4 separate regions of the Homo sapiens genome follow, and regions 1, 2 and 4 are each linked to region 3. The links are contacts of gene promoters, found by promoter capture Hi-C in human tissues and cell types (Jung and others, 2019). All regions are on one chromosome and are shown on one strand. Each heading gives the region's core, a stretch centred on a gene start or on the middle of the fragment in contact. The rest is flanking DNA. Distances are from core to core; before and after follow the strand shown. Region 1 overlaps KDM5A (lysine demethylase 5A). Region 2 overlaps KDM5A (lysine demethylase 5A). Region 3 holds the start of SLC6A12 (solute carrier family 6 member 12). Region 4 overlaps IQSEC3 (IQ motif and Sec7 domain ArfGEF 3).

Evidence for each region. The method cuts DNA at HindIII sites, captures the fragments that hold promoters and counts their contacts. A contact is called where the count stands out against the background at its distance.
Region 1: a fragment that was not itself captured here is called in contact with the fragment with the promoter of SLC6A12 in region 3 in 7 of the 25 tissues and cell types used here (IMR-90 fibroblasts, aorta, dorsolateral prefrontal cortex and 4 more).
Region 2: a contact is called between a fragment that was not itself captured here and the fragment with the promoter of SLC6A12 in region 3, in 2 of the 25 tissues and cell types used here (H1 embryonic stem cells and dorsolateral prefrontal cortex).
Region 4: a fragment that was not itself captured here is called in contact with the fragment with the promoter of SLC6A12 in region 3 in 3 of the 25 tissues and cell types used here (H1 embryonic stem cells, heart right ventricle and lymphoblastoid cells).

Annotation. Positions count from the first base shown.
Region 1 is chr12:296,919-299,618 of GRCh38, forward strand. KDM5A (lysine demethylase 5A) reads right to left here. Exons shown (of 28, transcript NM_001042603.3): 25 at 123-282. Among named protein-coding and RNA genes, the nearest start is that of SLC6A13, 35 kb to the left of the region's middle. The HindIII fragment of the contact is 4,145 bases long and covers 1-2,700 here.
Region 2 is chr12:280,285-282,984 of GRCh38, forward strand. KDM5A (lysine demethylase 5A) reads right to left here. Exons shown (of 28, transcript NM_001042603.3): 28 at 1-2,700. Among named protein-coding and RNA genes, the nearest start is that of SLC6A13, 19 kb to the left of the region's middle. The HindIII fragment of the contact is 5,517 bases long and covers 1-2,700 here.
Region 3 is chr12:212,798-215,497 of GRCh38, forward strand. SLC6A12 (solute carrier family 6 member 12) reads right to left here and starts at 1,360. Exons shown (of 16, transcript NM_001122848.3): 1 at 1,125-1,360. RefSeq lists an enhancer at 470-1,241. The HindIII fragment of the contact is 37,462 bases long and covers 1-2,700 here.
Region 4 is chr12:107,999-110,698 of GRCh38, forward strand. All of the region lies in intron 2 of IQSEC3 (IQ motif and Sec7 domain ArfGEF 3), which reads left to right. All of the region lies in intron 1 of IQSEC3-AS2 (IQSEC3 antisense RNA 2), which reads right to left. Among named protein-coding and RNA genes, the nearest start is that of IQSEC3-AS2, 2.4 kb to the right of the region's middle. The HindIII fragment of the contact is 5,213 bases long and covers 1-2,700 here.

The DNA of each region.
Region 1 (2,700 bases), core at 144-2,643, 84 kb after region 3:
TTAGTATTTCATGGCCAACCATTGTACTCCACTCGAAATGGAGTCACAGTCTTGATTAACATAATGCTTTTTCTCATTGGTTTTCTGCTTATGTTCCCCACAGTTTTTTAAAGGAGTAATACCTTGAGAACAACTCTTAGAAGCAGAAGAATAAGCATGCTCTGCACAAAATGAAGGTGCTGTCCACATGTGGGTCACCACCTCCTCGGATTTGATGGGAATCTCTTCATCACAAAAAAGATTGGGTTCAAGACTACTAGAGGACTTCACACTGGCTGTGTCCTGAAGAAGAAACAAAGAGAAGTATTCAGAATTAGAGTCATTTAACTTATTTTATGACAAGGCCCAAAATGGAGGCTTTCAGGTTAAAGCTTCTAATATACTAAAAATATGAGATTAAAATTAAATATCTGATGTTAAATAAGATAGAAAATGTCCATTGGGGAGAAAAACTGTAATTGTGGCAGGCCAGGTCTCCATGAGCAACCAGAACAGTTTCTACTAACACATTACTATAATTCTGATGAATGTGTAAGTTAAACAGTAAATAACTGGAGAAACTACTGCCTTCGTACAAGGGCTGAAATGTGAAAACAAACCCATTAAGATTTTCACCCGGGTTTTCTAAGACCCTAAAGCCTGATAAAGTTATGAAGGCATTCTTACACACACCTTGTACCAGGGCCCACTTAAGATAAGGAAATTTTTCCAAGTCTCTAGAGAAAGCTTTCCAGACCCTGGACCCTACCTGAAGATTAGATACAGTTTGAATGAAACATTCTGGCTTGTAGGTGCACCTCCTACACACAGACATAGAATTTAGAATGAATACAAGCGTTGAAAAAAACTTGTAACTTTTAGTTGGTCTGGTGAGTTACTCCATAACCAGCTGCAGAAATTAACTCCCTTCTTTCCCAGTCAGTCTGCATCTCCTTATTGGACTGAGAGAAAAAGCAGCCAGACCTCGTTCTGTCCAGGAATATAATGACTACAGATTCAAGACAAAAGAGAGTGTTAAGGTCAAAAACAATCCACGGAGATAATAAACCTACAAAAAAATTACTATTGCTCTCTAGATTCCTCCTCTCTGGGCAGGGCATCTCTGAAAAAAAGGCAGCAGCCCCAGTCAGGGACTTATAGATAAAACCCCCAGCTCCCTGGGACAGAGCACCTGGGGGAAGGGGCGGCTGTGGGCGCAGCTTCAGCAGACTTAAATGTCCCTGCCTGACGGCTCTGAAGAGAGCAGCGGATCTCCCAGCACAGCATTCGAGCTCTGATAAGCAACAGAATGCCTCCTCAAGTGGGTCCCTGGCCCCCGTGCATCCTGACGGGGAGACACCTCCCAGCAGGGGTCAACAGACACATCATACAAGAGAACTCTGGCTGGCATCTGGCCAGTGCCCCTCTGGGATGAAGCTTCCAGAGGAAGGAACAAGCAGCAATCTTTGCTGTTCTGCAGCCTCTGCTGGCGATACCCAGGCAAACAAGAGTCTGGAGTGGACCTCCACCAAACTCCAGCACACCTGCAGCAGAGGGGCCTGACTGTTTGAAGGAAAACTAACAAACAGAAAGGAGTAGTGTCAACATCAACAAAAAGGACGTCCACTCAGAGACTCCACCCAAAGGTCACCAACATCAAAGACCAAAGGTAGATAAATCCACGAAGATGGGGAGAAACCAGTACAAAAAGGCTGAACATTCCAAAAACCAGAATGCCTCTTCTCCTCCAGAGGATCAAATCTCCTCGCCAGCAAAGGAACAAAACTGGATGGTGAATGAGTTTGATGAATTGACAGAAGTAGGCTTCAGAAGGTGGGTAATAACAAACTCCTCTGAGCTAAAGGACCATGTTCTAACCCAATACAAGGAAGCTAAGAACCTTCAGGAAAGGTTAGAGGAATTGCTAACTAGAATAACCAGTTTAGAAAAGAACATAAATGAACTGATGGAGCTGAAAAACACAGCACGAGAACTTCGTGAAGCATACACAAGTATCAATAGCCGAATCAATCAAGCAGAAGAAAGGATATCAGAGATTGAAGATCAATTCAATAAAATAAAGTGAGAGGACAAGATTAGAGGAAAAAGAGTGAAAAGAAACGAAAAAAGCCTCCAATGCATATGGGACTACGTGAAAAGACCAAATCTACATTTGATTGGTGTACCTGTGTGATGGAAGAATGGAACCAACTTGAAAAACACTCTTCAGGATATTATCCAGGAGAACTTCCCCAACCTAGCAAGGCAGGCCAACATTCAAATTCAGGAAATACAGAGAACACCACAAAGATACTCCTTGAGAAGAGCAAACCCAAGACACATAACTGTCAGATTCACCAATGTTGAAATGAAGGAAAAAGTGTTAAGGGCAGCCAGAGAGAAAGGTCAAGTTACCCACAAAGGGAAGCCCATCAGACTAACAGCGGATCTCTCGCAGAAACTCTACAAGCCAAAAGAGAGTGGGGGCCAATATTCAACATTCTTAAAGAAAAGAATTTTCAACTCAGAATTTCATATCCAGCCAAACTAAGCTTCGTAAGTGAAGGAGAAATAAAACCCTTTCCAGACAAGCAAGTGCTGAGAGATTTTCTCACCACCAGACCTGCCTTACAAGAGCTCCTGAAGAAAGCACTAAACATGGAAAGGAACAATCGGTACCAGTCACTGGAAAAAACATACCAAATCGTAAAGACCATCGAC
Region 2 (2,700 bases), core at 163-2,662, 68 kb after region 3:
CATTTATTGGTATCAACCACAATAGCAAGACCCCCAAGAAATACTTGATCTAAACTGGGAGGGTCCAACACAATTTTTTTTTTTAATGGACTTGCCACCTTAAGAAACTTCAAGTGTATCTTTTTGTTGGCAAGAAAATTATTTCCCAAGAGGTAATCAGATTCCCCTCCCTGCCCCCGCTCTTTCAACCAACCCTCCTCCTAACATACACATACAGAGTTACACATTTCATGAAACTGAGGCCAAGTCCACTGCAAGCAGAGTCTTAACATTTTCAGAAATGATCCGTCCTTCATATCTGCATAAGCTGGGATCCTTGGCAATGGGGAAAAGGTGCCATTTGCTTCTCTGAAGTAACTTGGGGTCTGAATTGGTTGTGAGCTTTAAGAAGCCAAAGAGAAAGGGAAAGCATTTCCTTGTTTTCCCTATTAATGGTTTGTTGCAAAGGGATAAACTTCTCAAGAACCAAAAGTGAGGAAATGTGTTGGTCATCACTGGATTCTTGCTGGAAACAGAAGGCAGGTGAAATCTTCAGGAATCACTTCACACTCCAAAAACACTATTCTCAGCAATGATAATAGGCTAATCACACCACTGATCAAATTATTTTGGCTCAGTTCTTTATTTTATAGTTAGCAAATGAAATTAGAAACTGCTTTGGCACAGGTCAAAGGTGGCTCCCATATACTCACTAGTTTTCCTCAGGATTATCAATACTCATTATCAAAATGTACTTTTGCTTGGTTACCATTTAAAGTTGCCACCAATGTAAATGACAGGGGTTAGGGTGGGTATGGGTGTGGGGAACCTGAGCATACACACAATTTTTTAAATCTTTTAGATGTAATGCAATTAACCATATCTAATATTCTTTTAGAAAACACAAGAAACACAAAACATGCTCAAAGATCAAGAAATCGAGTTATACTTTTCATAAGGCACCACCAATTACCCTGATAAATTGTAAATAAATATGTAAGGGAATAATCAATAGGGAGTCTTGAGGTTTTACAAGACATTCCTGTTTAGACCACTTGGAGTACTGCAAAAGAAAAAACAAACAAGATACAGCTTTCATAACCCATCATATCCTTGCCCAGTGCACATCATTTGTTGCATAGTGGTGACTGGATATGATCCAGGCCAAGACAAGACCAAAATTCAAAAAATACATTAACAGCCATTCTTCCTCATACTACAGTAGGAGATACCACTTGGGACATTCATATCCAAAGAAGTAATGGTATGACTTAAAAAAAAAGGAGGAATTTCAAAAGGAGTACTTAAGGACCTGCTATAAAAGCAACCTTCTACACACATATGGAGCTAATTCACATGTGAAGCTTTATTAAATCTGGTTATATGTGGGACTTCAACAGCTCAATTTTTCCACAATTTCCACTTTTCAAATCCCATGCCAAACTGTCACTTTTTCCCTTAAAAAGTGGATAAACCCATCTTTTGAAAGACAGGTCTTCTCAGTTTTTCTGTTCATCCTCCTACTGTAAGTACTGGCTGATATTCACACACATGTACTACAGAATTAAAATACTGACAAGCAAGTAGTTTCTTGGCGTGCACGAATTGCATCCAGAACCCAAAAATTAAGAAATTCAAAAAGACATTTTGTGGGCACCTGCTAGCACAGAAGCGCAGAAGCAAAGCCCAGGCAGAACCATGCTAACCTTACAGCTCAGCCTGCACAGAAGCGCAGAAGCAAAGCCCAGGCAGAACCATGCTAACCTTACAGCTCAGCCTGCACAGAAGCGCAGAAGCAAAGCCCAGGCAGAACCATGCTAACCTTACAGCTCAGCCTGCACAGAAGCACAGAAGCAAAGCCCAGGCAGAACCATGCTAACCTTACAGCTTAGCCTCTGTCCTTTAAAAAAAGAGAGAGACAGACAGACACATGGGGTCTCGCTGTTGACCAGGCGGGACTCAAACTCACAGGTTGAAGCAATCTTCCCACTTCAGCCTCCTGACCACAGGTGCACTCTACTGCACCTGGCTGCCATGTTTTTTATTATTAAAGTACATTATGGGTAATCACAGGTTTAATGTTTGCCGTTTCCATTATTCAAGGTATGACATGCAATAATTTATAATTTTACTGAGGCACAAATTTGAATCATGCAGGCAAAGCTGGTGTGCAGCAGCTTAGTGAGGAAGTCATGCATCTACACATCAACATGGCTTTGCTGCAGTACCTATCAGGAAGCAAAATAAACATCTGTGGAAGAAAAATCTCCTGTCTTCTCCCCCAGCTAGAAAGCTAACTACTGGTGCTGTATTTGTACTTTTAAACTTGGGGATCTGCATAGTTCTAATGACTTAGCTTTTAAGAATACCACAGGCCTACCATATTTCCATTTTTCTTTCTATAACCTTTGCCAGAGTTAAAATACTAATGATGAAGAATTGCAACTTCAGTTGCAGTTTAGAGGAGATAAGGGTAGAAAGACATTTTAAATCATGTCTTAATACAAAATATTACAATACAGAAGGGAGCAAGTAAGTAATTTTCTCTAAGTGAAAATAATGCTTTGTATTAGAACACCAACATTTCTTTAAATAGATGAATCTTGTTTCATTAATTCCAAAACCGCAGATTTGTGTATTTTTTGTTTTGCCATTAATTTCTCCCTTCTGTTCTTCTCAGCCTTGGTCTAAACCTGTGGTCAAGTCATACCAAATCCTCCA
Region 3 (2,700 bases), core at 110-2,609:
CGCTGTGCCCTTCCACCTCCAGCTTCGGCTGGCCGCCTCTCCAGCCCCTCGAGTCTCCTCCAAGGCCGCCCACCTGCTTTGCTAAGCCGGGACAGGGGGGTGAGGGGTGGGGGATGGGCCTCATCATACTTCAGTGCCCTCCAGAAGCAAACACACCAATTTCCACACCGGGCTTGGTGCTGCCCAGAGAGCAAATCTTCAAGAGACTAGAAAGTCCAAAGTTAAGTCTGTTTTCAGGAGCTGGGCATGTCGCCAGAGGCCCAGCTGGGGCTAGCAGAGGTGCAGACGAGACCAGAAATGCTGCTGCCCATGTGCTGCTGGGATCCCAGCTCTGTCCCCTTTGCTCCCCAGTCCAGCATAGGAATAGCTCAGACCCTGCACACGGGGGGATGGGACACCCAGCCCCTGCTTCAGTCCACACCCACATACCAACACCCATTCCCATACACACACTGGTGCCATTTCCCGTCACGTCCCTTCGCACACACATACCTGTGTGCATGGCACCAAAACCTGGCTCTCTCTGTAGTCCTTCACACCCCGTGAGTGCCGGTCTCAGCTGGTGGCTGCCTGCAACTCCCCTGAGTGCCCCCCTCGGGTACAAGCACACCCATAGCATCCACCGCCCAAAGCCAAGACAGCTTCCTCCTGGGAGGCGCCTGGCACCCAGCTCGTCACGCTCAGCCGGCAGGCAGCGGGCAGGAACCCCTCACCTGTGATCATTTATTGCAGTTCCTGGGCCCTCGGGAATGCCCCGAGGTTTCTCCTGTCCACTTCTCCTTCCACCTTGCTGGGCACCACCTGCTTCCCCTCCCCTCGTCAGATGACCACCCCTGCTTTCACCCACTGCCGTGACCAGCTGCCCATCGCTGGACTTTCCTGCTCCACAGGCTAATCACTGAGCTGCTCCCACGCTGGATGGGGCGGAGCTAGGGGGCACCCCTTGTCCTGAGAGTCGTGGGCATCAGACTTGCCCTTTGGCCTGAGGTTATTGCAGGTCCTGCCCCCCGCTGCAGACACGCAGTTCCACAGAGTCTCGCTTCCCAGGGCTCTATCCCTCCAGCCCCTCTGAGCAGCAGTTGGAGACTGCAAAGACAGAGCCAGCCCCTCCACTTCCCGCTCACCTCAGTCCCCAGCACCGGCTCCTGTGGTCAGCTTGGCTGTGGGCATCAGGTCTCCAGGAGAGTCCCAAGGCAGCTGCTTATGGGAAAGCCAAGAGAGCCGGGACCTGAAAGGGAAACTGCCCTCCACGTTCACGCCTTACCCTGTTCCTCCCAGCGCAGAATCCCATGTGACTTGTCCAGGGACTCCCAGACAGAAAGAAGCCGTGTGTGTATGTGTTGGGGCGGGGGCTGTGTGTGTTGGGGAGTGAAAGGACAGAGAAATACCAGGAGCAGCAGGAGGGACTGAGGCCAAAAGTTTGTGAACCGAGATTACAACATCCAACCTCAGGAAGTCAAGTCCTCTGTCCCCAGCGCTCCCACCCCCATCCCACTCCCACTGTGAACCCACTGTCTCCAGACCGGTGCCCTCCCCGTGGGCACAGTCCCATGATGGCCCCTCCAGAGCTGGGCTGAGCTGCTGCTCCCTTGGGCAGGGGAAGGGGCTCAGAGACTCACACCCTGACCTCATCTCCCCTCCTCCTCCTCCTTGCCCTTCCCCCTTCCCCCTTTTCCCCTATCCCCCTCCAGAACCATCTCCTTCCCAGGGATGAGGAGACGGGTATGTGCAGCACAGGGGACAGCCCTCTCTTACCAGAGACTCCAGGCTATAAACTGAGAACCTTGGGAGGGGAGGTGACCTCACTGACGAGGGCAAGGGAGGAGGGTGAATCACACGCTGGAGTTTTCCACCAAGTACCTGCCCTCTGTGGCTTCTAGGCAAGGCCCTGGACCTTCACAACCCTTCTCCTTGGGATTTTCCTAGAGAAAGCACCCAGAGCGTACCTCAAGAAGCAATGTAGAGAGGACCCAGGATTGGGACCAGACAGACCTGAGTTTCTTCTCCTCCTCTATCATGTATCAGTCACGACAGCTAGGCAAGGGTCAGCCTTGGTTTCCCAGTCTGTCAAAGGTAGGTAACAACACAATATCTACTTTGCGGGGTTGCTGTGAGGGTGCAGGGATATCATAGGTGCTTAAGGGGAGGTGTGGGTGTTTGTTGTGTGTCCTCTGGAAGCAGAGGCTGGGATGGTGGGGTGTCTGGTCCCAGGCACCTCTGGTCACTGCATAGCACCAGGCACCTAGCTAGAATTTGTCTGGAGTGGCCTGCCAGCTATCAATGGGGAAGGGTATTTTTTGAATACATGTGCCCTATGCCGTGTGCCCAGTGAGCTCCTCCAGAACAGCGTCCTGGTCACTGTCCCTGAGCACGCCCACCTGGTGTGGGGTACAGCACTGTCCCACCGCCCTTCATTCAGAATAGCTGGTGCCTCCTTCAAGACAAAGGAGGTGCTTCTTCAGCTCTAGGTGGTATGAAGGGAGAGGAAGTTGCAGGGAGAAAGGGAAATTTCCTTTTACATGTGCTTCCTCTGTGTATTTTAGAACTTCCCAGCAGGGGTGGGGTGTGAAGTGAGACTCTCAGTCTGTAGTTTTCCATCAAGCACCCCCACGATATGTCTCTCGGGCCCCTCTCAGCCTCTCCTGTGGGGTTCCACATGAAGAGGAAGGCAGAGCAGGTCTCAGCTCTCAGACCCATTGC
Region 4 (2,700 bases), core at 16-2,515, 100 kb before region 3:
TTAATACCACCTTAGGGATATCTGGGATTAGGCCAAATAGTTTAACTTCTACCTCCAGGGAGGCTGCTTAGCAGCTTTATCCACAAGCCTGTTCCCTAACCCTAACCCTAACCCTAACCCTAACCCTAGCTTCTATAGAGTTTCCTTTCTGATGGCCGTTTACATGAACTATGGCTACCTCTGCTGGAAGCAGGAGGCTTTTTAAAACTTGTTTGACCAGTTTCCCATATACCAATTCTTTCTACCTGCTATTTATTAGGCTCCACTTTGTCCAGATCTTTCCAAAGGTGTGTACTACTCCATAGGCATATCTGGAAATAGCATATACAGTGCCTTCTTGGCCTTATATGAGCTTCAGGGCTTGGTTAAGAGCATGTAATTCACAGGTTTGGGCTGAGCAGTTATTGGGTAATCTACCTTTTTCTCATAAGGTTTGTTTGTTTCCATCAATGACAGCCTGGACATTGTGTCTTTTACCATCTATCACTCAGGATGGCCTATTCACAAACAGCCTCATTCCATCGAGTAGTGGAATTTCTTTAAGGTCTGGTCTAACTTTGGTTTGATATTCTATCATATGTAAACAGTTATGGTCTGATACCTGCTTATTCTCCTCTCATTTCCGTAAGAAACTGACTGGAGTTCATTTAGGCGCCTTTCCAGGGCCCACTGACCCCAGGAGGAACTTGAGGAGGCAAGGGGCTGACCAGCTGGCCTTTCAGGGTGTCTTTAGCCGGGCTCTGCCGGGTCTGGCTCTGGGCCAACAGCTGCTGGTTTGAAGAGCTGCCAGCCTGTGGTGCCTTCCCTGATGGGCACTCTCATCAGCAAAGGCATCCCTGGCTCCTTCTTTGCTTTGAAGGCACCATCCGTCTCCCTGGCAGGCCGAGAGCTGCACTGTTTGTATTCCACGCCACCCCTGCTGGTGACCCAGCAACTGCAAAGGGTCCCAGGTTTGTCCCGCTCTGGGAGGGGACTTGGTGGCTTTTCGTCAGCTGCAAGGGTCGCCCCTTGGCCCAGCCCAGCTCTGGGAAACAGAACTTTTATACACCCCACCTCAAAGCATCCTGGCGGACTTCTCCCCAGCACGCGCTCTCTCTACTTCAGGGATTGCAAACTGGCATTTTCTATCACCTGTATTGGGTTATTAAGTTTTTTTAACTGATCACCAGCATTTAAAAATCCTGTTTCACATAAAAAGTCAGAATTCTGGCCTCTGACAAAGCAGACAGTCTGGCAACACAGGGCTGGCACTGTGAGAACAGTCGAGCAGCTGCAGAGGTGTGCCCTCTTCAGTTAGCCACAGTCCCCATCCAGCCCTGCAGCCCTCCTTCTCACCATTTGCTGGCCGTGTTGTCCTTTGAGTTTATAACCCTAGTTCGGATCTTCCTTATGTAGCCCCCCGGCCTCTCTGCAGCCTTACTGACGGCTGCCCCTGGTGGACTCACAGCCTCTCAGTGAAACAGCAGCAAACCTTAATGCTCATCTCATCCACTCACCCTTCCACATCCTGAACCCTTTCTACACCCTCCTGACAAACAGCCATCTAGTCTTTGCCGTACGCAACCCACTATTCCTCAGGCAGCCTGATCCTAAACTCTCCTCCACATCCCCTTCTCACTTGCATCCCCCAGTTCCCGGACCCTGTCCCTCCTCAGTGGCCGCACTGCACCCTTTCCCAGCACCTCCTTGTTGCTTGAGCCTCTAGAACCTTCCCCCAGCCCTGCCAACCTCTCCACATCCTCTCACTTCCTCTTGTACTCTTTCTTCCTTTTGCATTATTTTTCTCCCCAGTCTTAACTTTGGTGTCTCTCTTTGATCTGTCTTTTCCAGTCTCTTGCTCTCGCTCGTTTTCTTTTTCTATCTATCTCTATCATCCTGTTTCCTTTTTCCCTCACACTTAGTTTCTTTCTCTTTCTCTCTCTGGGCACAAGCTAAACTGTGCTGGGCCCTGGCCCCTGACAATCTGCAAAGATGGACAGCTCTGTCGAAACAACAAAGATTCAGCAACAACTTTTATCAACAGCTTTCAGCAGCCAGCTTCCACACACAGTTGTGTGGCCGCCTCTCCCTTGCCTTCAGGGTCAGCAGCTTAACTCTTTCTCTCTCTGGCCCTCTATGTTTGCCATTTCCTCCCCTTTGTCTTTCCAATTTTCTTTTTTACTTTTTCTCTTTCTCCCTTTTCCAGTTTCTCTTTTCTTTCTTCTTACAAAAACCTTCTGAGCTTCCCTCAGTAATTCCTTAATCGGTTTTTCATTCCACCTATCAATCTTTTGCAGTTTCTTAGTAATATCAGGCCAGCTTTTGTCACAGAACTAAGTCCTAAAAGGCCTTGCCCTACTGGGTGCTCTGGACCTAATCCTGAATATTTTCTTATTTGATCCCTGAGCCTCTGCAGAAATGCGGAGGGAGTCTTCTCTTTTTATTGTTGGATCTCGAATGCTTTCAAGACATTTTGTGTTCTAAGAGTGGACTTTTTAATCCCTTTAATTATTAGTTCCCTTGGGTCCTGCACTGGGGCCTGATCTCTGAGGTTATTGTTATCCCCTCTGGGATTTGCATTTGGGAATTTCTGCTCAGCTGGCAGGACTCCTTACCCGGGAGAATGGGGTCTCTCCCAAATGGTCATGGCTGCCCTTATAATCATTCCCCTCTCTTCCCCAGGAAACAGAATATTTATGATTGACATTATCTTAGCCCAAG